Regions from separate parts of the Homo sapiens genome. Here region 1 is linked to region 2. Evidence: promoter capture Hi-C in human tissues and cell types (Jung and others, 2019). All regions are on one chromosome and are shown on one strand. The core of a region is centred on a gene start or on the middle of the fragment in contact, and the rest is flanking DNA. Distances in the headings are between cores, read along the strand shown. Region 1 has its middle 70 kb from the start of TMPRSS11A. Region 2 holds the start of TMPRSS11F (transmembrane serine protease 11F).

Evidence for each region. Contacts are between HindIII fragments. The study calls those that stand out against the background at their distance.
Region 1: a fragment that was not itself captured here is called in contact with the fragment with the promoter of TMPRSS11F in region 2 in 2 of the 25 tissues and cell types used here (H1 embryonic stem cells and stomach).

What each region holds. Positions count from the first base shown.
Region 1 is chr4:68,031,342-68,035,821 of GRCh38, forward strand. No RefSeq gene overlaps it. Among named protein-coding and RNA genes, the nearest start is that of TMPRSS11A, 70 kb to the left of the region's middle. The HindIII fragment of the contact is 8,743 bases long and covers 1-4,480 here.
Region 2 is chr4:68,127,719-68,131,947 of GRCh38, forward strand. It overlaps TMPRSS11F (transmembrane serine protease 11F), which reads right to left and starts at 2,151. Exons shown (of 10, transcript NM_207407.2): 1 at 2,092-2,151. The coding sequence starts at 2,102. The HindIII fragment of the contact is 14,883 bases long and covers 37-4,229 here.

The DNA.
Region 1 (4,480 bases), core at 143-2,642, 97 kb before region 2:
CCCTCGGGAGATCAATCCCCTGTCCTCCTGCTATTTGCTCCATGAGAAAGATCCACCTACGACATCGAATCCTCAGACCAACCAGCCCAAGGAACATCTCACCAATTTTAAATCAGGTAAGCGGCTTCTTTTTACTCTCTTCTCCAACCTCTCTCACTATCCCTCAACTTCTTTCTCCTTTCAATTTCTGTGTCACCCTTCAATCTCTCCCTTCATTTCAATCCCTTTCCTTTTCTGGTAGAGACAGAGGAGACACGTTTTATCTGTGAACCCAAAACTCCAGCGCCAGTCATGGACTTGGGAAGACAGTCTTCGCTTGGTGTTTAATGACTGAGGGGATGCCTGCTTGATTATTCACCCACGTTTCAGAGGTGTCTGATCACTGTGGGGACGCCTGCCTTGATCCTTCACCCTTAGTGGCAAGTATCACTTTCCTGGGGGGGGGCAAGCACCCCCCACCCCTTATCTCTGTGTCTCTACCCTCTCTTTACTCTGGGCTTATCTCCTTCACTATGGGCAACCTTCCACCCTCCATTCCTCCATCCTCTCCCTTAGCCTGTGTTCTCAAGAACTTAAAACCTCTTCAACTCACACCTGACCTAAAACCTAAACACCTTATTTTCTTCTGCAATGCTGCTTAACCCCAACACAAACTCGACAATGGTTCCAAATAGCCAGAAAATGGCACTTTTGATTTTTACATCCTACAAGATCTAGATAATTCTTCTCATAAAATGGGCAAATGGTCTGAGGTGCCTGACGTCCAGGCATTCTTTTACACATCAGTCTCTTCCTAATCTCTGCTCCCAGTGCGACTCATCCCAAACCTTTCTTCTTTCCCTCCCACCTGTCCCCACAGTCCCAACCCCAAGCGTTGCTTTCAATCTTCCTTTTCTACCGACCCATCTGACCTCTCCCTTCATCCCAAGATTGCTCCTCCTCAGGTAACTCCCCGCCAGGCTGAGTCAGGCTCCAATTCTTCCTCAGCTTCCGCTCCTCCACCCTATAATCCTTCTATCACCTCCTCTCCCCACACCCAGTCTGGCTTACAGTTTTGTTCCGCGACTAGCCCTCCCCCACCTCCCAACAATTTCCTTTTAAAAATGGTGGCTAGAGCTAAAGGCATAGTCAAGGTTAATGCTCCTTTTTCTTTATCCGACCTCTCCCAAATCAGTTAGCATTTAGGCTTTTTTTCGTCAAATATGAAAACCCAGCCCAGTGCATGGCTCATTTGGCAACAACCCTGAGACGCTTTACAGCCCTAGACCCTGAAAGGTCAGAAGGCCGTCTCATTCTAAATATGCATTTTATTACCCAATCTGCTCCCAACATTAAATAAAGCTCCAAAAATTAGATTCTGGCCCTCAAACCCCACAACAGGACTTAACCTCTCCTTCAAGGTGTACAATAATAGAGAAGAGTTGCAATTACTTGCCTCTTCTCTGAGAGAAAGCCTAGCCACATCTCCAGCACACAAGAACTTCAAAATGCCTAAACCACAGTGGCCAGGTGTTCCTTCAGGACTTCATCCCTCAGGATCTTGCTTCACGTGCTGGAAATCTGGCCACTGGGCCAAGGAATGCCTGTGGCCCGGGATCCCTCCTAAGCTGTATCCCATCTATGAGGGACTCCACTGGAAATCGGACTGTCCAACTCACCTGGCAACCACTCCCAGAGCCCCTGGAACTCTGGCCCAAGACTCTCTGACTGACTCCTTCCCAGATCTTCTCAGCTTAGCAGCTGAAGACTGAAGCTGCCCGATCACCTCAGAAGCCTCCTGGACCATCAAAGATGCTTTAGGTAACTCTTACAGTGGAGGGTAAGTCCGTCCCCTTCTTAATCAATACAGAGGCTACCCACTCCACATTACCTTCTTTTCATGGGCCTGTTTCCTTTGCCTCCATAACTGTTGTGAGTATTGATGGCCAGGCTTCTAAACCTCTTAAAACTCCCCAACTCTGGTGCCAACTAGGACAACATTCTTTTATGCACTCCCTTTTAGTTATCCCCACCTGCCCAGTTCCCTTATTAGGCCGAGACATTTTAACTAAATTATCTGCTTCCCTGACTATTACTGGGCTACAGCCACACCTCATTGCCACTCTTTTCCCCAGTTCAAAGCCTCCTTCGCATCCTCCCCTTGTATCTCCCCATCTTAATCCACAGGTATGGGATGCCTCTACTCCCTCCCTGGCAACCACACGCCCATTACTATCCCATTAAAACCTAATAACCCTTACCCCACTCAATGCCAATGCCAATATCCATCCCACAGGAGGCTTTAAAAGGATTAAAGCCTGTTATCACTCGCCTGTTACAGCATGGCCTTTTAAAGCCTATAAACTCTCCCTACAATTCCCCCATTTTACCTGTCCAAAAACTGGACAAATCTTACAGGTTAGTTCAGGATCTGCACCTTATCAACTAAATTGTTTTGCCTATCCACCCTGTGGTGCCTAACACATACACTCTTTTGTCCTCAATACCTTCCTCCACAACTCACTATTCCATTCTTGATCTTAAAGATGCTTTTTTCACTATTCCCCTGTACCCCTTGTCCCAGCCTCTCTTTGCTTTTACCTGGACTAACCCTGACACCCATCAGTCCCAGCAGCTTACCTGGGGTGTACTACCACAAGGCTTCAGGGACAGCCCTCATTACTTCAGCCAAGCTCTTTCTCATAATTTACTTTCTTTCCACCCCTCTGCTTCTCACCTTATTCAAAATATTGATGGCCTTCTACTTTGTAGCTCCTGCTTTGAATCTTCTCAACAAGACAACCTCCTGCTCCTTCAACACTTATTCTCCAAGGGATATCCAGTATCCCCCTCCAAAGCTCAAATTTCTTCTCTGTTACCTACCTCGGCATAATTCTTCATAAAAACACACATACCCTCCCTGCCAATCATGTCTGACTGATGTCTCAAACCCCAACCCCTTCTACAAAACAACTCCTTTCCTTCCTGGGCATGGTTAGATACTTTTGCCTTTGGATATCTGGTTTTGCCATCTTAACAAAACCGTTATATAAACTCACAAAAGGAAACCTAGCTGACCCTGTAGATCCTAAATCTTTTCCCCACTCCTCCTTTCATTCCTTGAAGACAGCTTTAGAGACTGCTCCCACACTAGCTCTTCCTGACTCATCCCAACCCTCTTCATTACACACAGTGGAAGTGCAGGGCTATGCAGTGGGAATTCTTACACGAGGACTGGGACCGCACCCTGTAGCCTTTTTGTCCAAACATCTTGACCTTACTGTTTTAGGCTGGCCATCATGTCTCCATGCAGCAGCTGCCACTGCCCTAATACTTTTAAAGGCCCTCAAAATCACAAACTATATTCAACTCATTCTCTACAGTTCTCATAACTTCCAAAATCTGTTTTCTTTCTCACACCTGATGCATATACTTTCTGCTCCCCGGCTCCTTCAGCTATATTCACTCTTTGTTGAGTCTCCCACAATTACCATTGTTCCTGGCCTGGACTTCAATCCAGCCTCCCACATTATTCCGGATACCACACCTGACCCCCATGACTATATCTCTCTGATCCACCTGACATTCACTTCACTTCTCCATATTTCCTTCTTTCCTGTTCCTCACCCTGATCACACTTGGTTTATTGATGGCAGTTCCACCAGGCCTAATTGCCACTCACCAGCAAAGGCAGGCTATGCTATAGTATCTTCCACATCTATCATTGAGGCTACTGCTCTGCCCCCCTCCACTACCTGTCAGCAAGCCGAACTCATTGCCTTAACTTGAGCCCTCACTCTTGCAAAGGGACTATGCATCAATATTTATACTGACTCCAAATATGCCTTCCGTATCTTTCACCACCATGCTGTTATATGGGCAGAAAGAGGTTTCCTCACTACACAAGCGTCCTCCATCATTAATGCCTCTTTAATAAAAACTTTACTTACAAAGGAAGCTGGAGTCATTCACTGCAAGGGCCATCAAAAGGTATCAGATCCCATCACTCAGGGCAATGCTTATGCTGATAAGGTAGCTAAAGAAGCAGCTAGCATTCCAACTTCTGTCCCTCATGGCCAGTTTTTCTCCTTCTCATTGTTCACTCCCACCTACTCTTTCACTGAAACTTCCACCTATCAATCTCTTCCCACACAAGGCAAATGGTTCTTGGACCAAAGGAAATATCTCCTTCCAGCCTCACAGGCCCATTCTATTCTGTTGTCATTTCATAACCTCTTCCACGTAGGTTACAAGCCGCTAGCCTGCCTCTCAGAGCCTCTCATTTCCTTTCCATCGTGGACACCTATCCTCAAGGAAATCACTTCTCAGTGTTCTATCTGCTATTCTACTGCTCCTCAGGGATTGTTCAGGCCCCCTCCCTTCCCTACACATCAAGCTCGGGGATTTGCCCCTGCCCAGGACTGGTAACCTGACTTTACTCACATGCCCTGAGTCAAGAAACTAAAATACCTCTTAGTCTAGGTAGACACTTTCACTGAAT
Region 2 (4,229 bases), core at 901-3,400:
ACTGTCTATATATGAATCTGAATCTGAATCATATATCCATAATACAATATTTACACTAATACTTAAGATACAGAAAAAAATAAAATTAATACAAATCTTATTTTATTACTATTTAAATACACCAACAACAAATGAACAATACCAAAATAAACCAAAGAATAAACCAATAAACCAAAAATTGCTTTTAGCTATCCACAAATATTACTTCAAGGCCCATTAATGGTAACAACCTCACCCCTCATTCATTTACTTATAAACCTTCCCCACATTTCACAGATAAAAGTGAGGTCTTGAGAAGTACCAGACAAAAGAGTTCAAAGTTGGATCTTGAACACATCTAAATGATGGTACTCTTTCTACTTTACCAAAATGAGAAAGACAGGGCTTTTGCTAAGAGGCCATAGTCTATCTGACTAATTCATTCTTTGAGACTAGATCCCTTGGGCAAAATACCTTTACTAATGAATTCAATAAATCCACTGTCTAAGCTTCTTATCTTTATACACAAGATATATTTTTTGACAGAATATTTGTTTTAAAAGCAGATCTGATTTGAAATCTAATTAGCAAGAATATTTTAAATCCTCCAAATAATAAATGTTTGAGATGATGGATATGCTAATTACTCTGATCTGATCACTATATATTACATGTACTGAAATAGTGCTATGTACCCCATAAATACGTAGAATTATTATATGTCAACTTAATAATAAAACCAAAAAATCCTCAGAACTCTAATAAACTCTGGATCAAAGCTGACGAGGCTTCAATATAGAAATTTCATGTTGTAATGATATTTTCAGGGTGGAAAAGTGAGTGTTTGGAGATGATGCCGTAAGTTGGGAAGAGAAGAATCAGGCTGATAAAAAACACTTACTGAAGAATTCTGAAATAAATTAGAATAAGAGAACTCCAAATTTTTCTAATTTTTTAAAGAAATTTTTAGCATATTATATTTATATGAATGTTAGTTAAATATAAAAGTTTTTTCTACTGTACGTTTTGTCTTATTCTGTCTTTATCTTGATAAATAAGAAATATACTTTGTTGTATTTAGTAAGAAGTACAGATAATATGCTATATCATGCTATCATGATGGGTTTATATGGGAGATTTATGCATGAAATGGAAGTCTTCCTTAGGCTTATGCTGTCATTTGAAAGTAAATTAGGGAGGGCAGGAACACTCATCATTTAAGAGTGCCAGAGCCTACAGGCTTTAAGTATTTAGGTTAATTGAAGACAAAATCAAATGACTGAACAATTAAAATTATCACAAAATCATGATTAAGTTGGAAACATCAGTCAGTGCAGAACATGTGGGAAATTTGTGTCTGTAGAAAGATCGAGAACCTTTTTAAGAAACAAGGCTAGACTTAGCACAAGTTTGAATGAAATCATCCATCAAATATCAATTATTCCTTTCGAAGTCTATAAAACAATAGCCTGAATATTACCTAAACATAAATATATAATACAAATTTATTTACCTTAAATTCAACAATTGATCAATTATTTTGGAGTTCAATTATGATGATACAAAGTCTAGATTTTGTTAATTTGATAATTTTTTACATATGAGTATTTTAATTTTAATCATTTCACTCATGATATACAAAATAACCTATCATAGTTTCTATTAGAGTTAAATAAAAATTCTAGTAGACTCTCCTCTTAAATTTATATTTAATTTTCCCAGAATATACATCAATAAGCAACATATGATAAAAATGTATACCATGCTATGGAACATGGAAAAGTAACTAAATGGGCTATATTAAACACTTTATTCTTTGAAGTGTAGGTTTTACTAAATGTTTTAAATATTAATATAGTTAACTTATTACCTCACATCATTTCTATTTCTTTTATTTAGAAACAAAAAACACCACATTGGCCTCTGTTGTTCAAAAAAATTCTGATATTTAAAAACAACAACAATAAAACTTTAATATAAAATACAATAACACACATTAAAACTCTAATGTTTAAATCAATCTCCACCAGCCAACATCTGTACTACCTGTCTCAGGAATTGTAAACCTCTGTCCCCACTGATAACCTTTACTGAGAAAAGCTGAATACTTACGCGTACATCATGAACCCAGGACTGGGGCAGCTTCTATTCAGTCACCATCTGATCTGTATCAGCAGGTTAGGACTTGGAGGCTGCAAAATAATGACAGTCACTGGCAACAAGAAAGGAAACAAGTTTGACAGGTTTAGTGAGTGAGGTATGCAGTCTTCTAGCCTGATAAGAACAAGAACATGATCAGTTTTGTGCCAACTGGCTCCACACAGTGAAGTAATTGTCAATATCCGCATAGAGAAGCTCCAAGTAGTAGAGGGCTCAGAATGTGCAACTTGTGATGATTCAGAAGACCACACTTTTCCAGTTGGGGAAGTATGATAAGCATTGAGGTGTGGCCCCAGTTTGCTTTCCAAAAAAAAAAAAAAACCAACAAAACAAAACACACTAGAGCACACTGATGGCACTTCTTATTTGTTCATTAGAAATGTTCAGTCTCTTCCCTTTGAGGGAATAACAAGGGGTAGCGGAGTGGAGAAGACCTGAGTTATGAACCAGGGCACCTGTCTCAGCCATTATTCAGCTTATTGGGACTTACTTTCCTCCTAAGGAAAATGGCAGGACTGTATTAGCTTTTCTTAATACTGTCCATTTTAGCTCTAAATATAATAGAACGTATTGAAACAATTTATTTACCCCAAAAAAGGCAGAAAAGGAAGGTAAATATCAAAAGCAAAAACGTATTTTCTTCTTTCTTATTATTAGGAATAACTTTGTCCATCTTAGTGGTATGAATTCCCAGTATTTACAAACCGTCCCTTTAAATACTTTCATATATCTATAGAGAATTTAGTATAAATACATGAACTTCTTATAAAGATCAGAAAAGTTACAAAATAGAAATTACAATTTTAAGAGCTATTAAGGCTCAGAGTCAAAGGATATTAAAGAAAAATGATAAATTTTTACTTTGGTTGTACAGAATATCTTCATCTAAAATGCTAAAAATGCAATGTGCCTCTAATTGTAATACTTTCATTATAATGCTCTGCAAAGGTATTAAAAGGAACTATATTTTCCAAAACATTTGACAAATGAAAAAAATGAAACAGATTGTCAGTTTGTATAAACACCAACAATATGACAGAAGACATATGATAATACAATTTTGAGTAGAACTAAAAATGTCTAAATAAGTAGTTAATAAAATTTACCAGTCAGTTCACACTGAAAACTATAACTTCATTTAGCAAAAGTAACTTTCATCTTTGGAGCATTACTTTTTTTCAAAAGTAAAAAATTCCAAAATCTAATAAAAAGGTGCTAGAAAAATTATATTTGTTTAGTATATAAATATAACTGATTATTTTCATTTTTATATAGTATATGTAGTAGTATTTGTGCTAATTTGAAATTAACATTGTGTAAATATTCTTTTTAAATGGTTTTCATGTTTACATTTAAGCATTTCACATTAATAATAAACTAATATTTTATAATCCTTATTTGTTAAAATTCATAAATATATTCTCAGCCTCTTACATTAGTAAATAATAATACAGCAGACAATAAGCTCTGTGGCTTAACTGAGGGAAATTAGGCTTTACAAGAAACATGTCCAAGTAATTACAAGCAAGTCCAGCAACCAGCTTTGAGGATTCTGGATTAAAACATGTGGTATGTATAGATTTATTCTCTCAAGAAAATCAGTGTTTTCATATTGAATCACAGGACATGGTGGGGGGAACTTAGGAGATACAGCAATATTTACTTTAACCATGTTTAAAAAGTTAGAGATTACAGTAGAAGCTGTTTTATGTTTAATGGCTCAAAAATAGAGATTTAATTGTCTCCCATCGGAATATTTTCTGTTTGGCCATTCTTTCAAATGATCTTTTATTTGAATAGTTTTAAAGTTTGTGTTTATTGGTTTTTATTTTCCCCCTCCTTCAGCTTTCAGTGACTACGTAAAATAACTCATTTTTTTCTCTGACATAATAGCTTTACCACAGTGGGGTGACAGTATACCAGGCTACTAGATAAGATGACTGGGTTCAGTTTCTGGCACTGGCATGAATTACCTTTGTGAAAATAGGAATGTTCTTAACCTTTCTACATCTCAGATCCTCCCTCTATAATATGGAGATAATATTTGTCTCTAATTTAAAGGGGATAATAAATGTAAAGGACTTAAAATA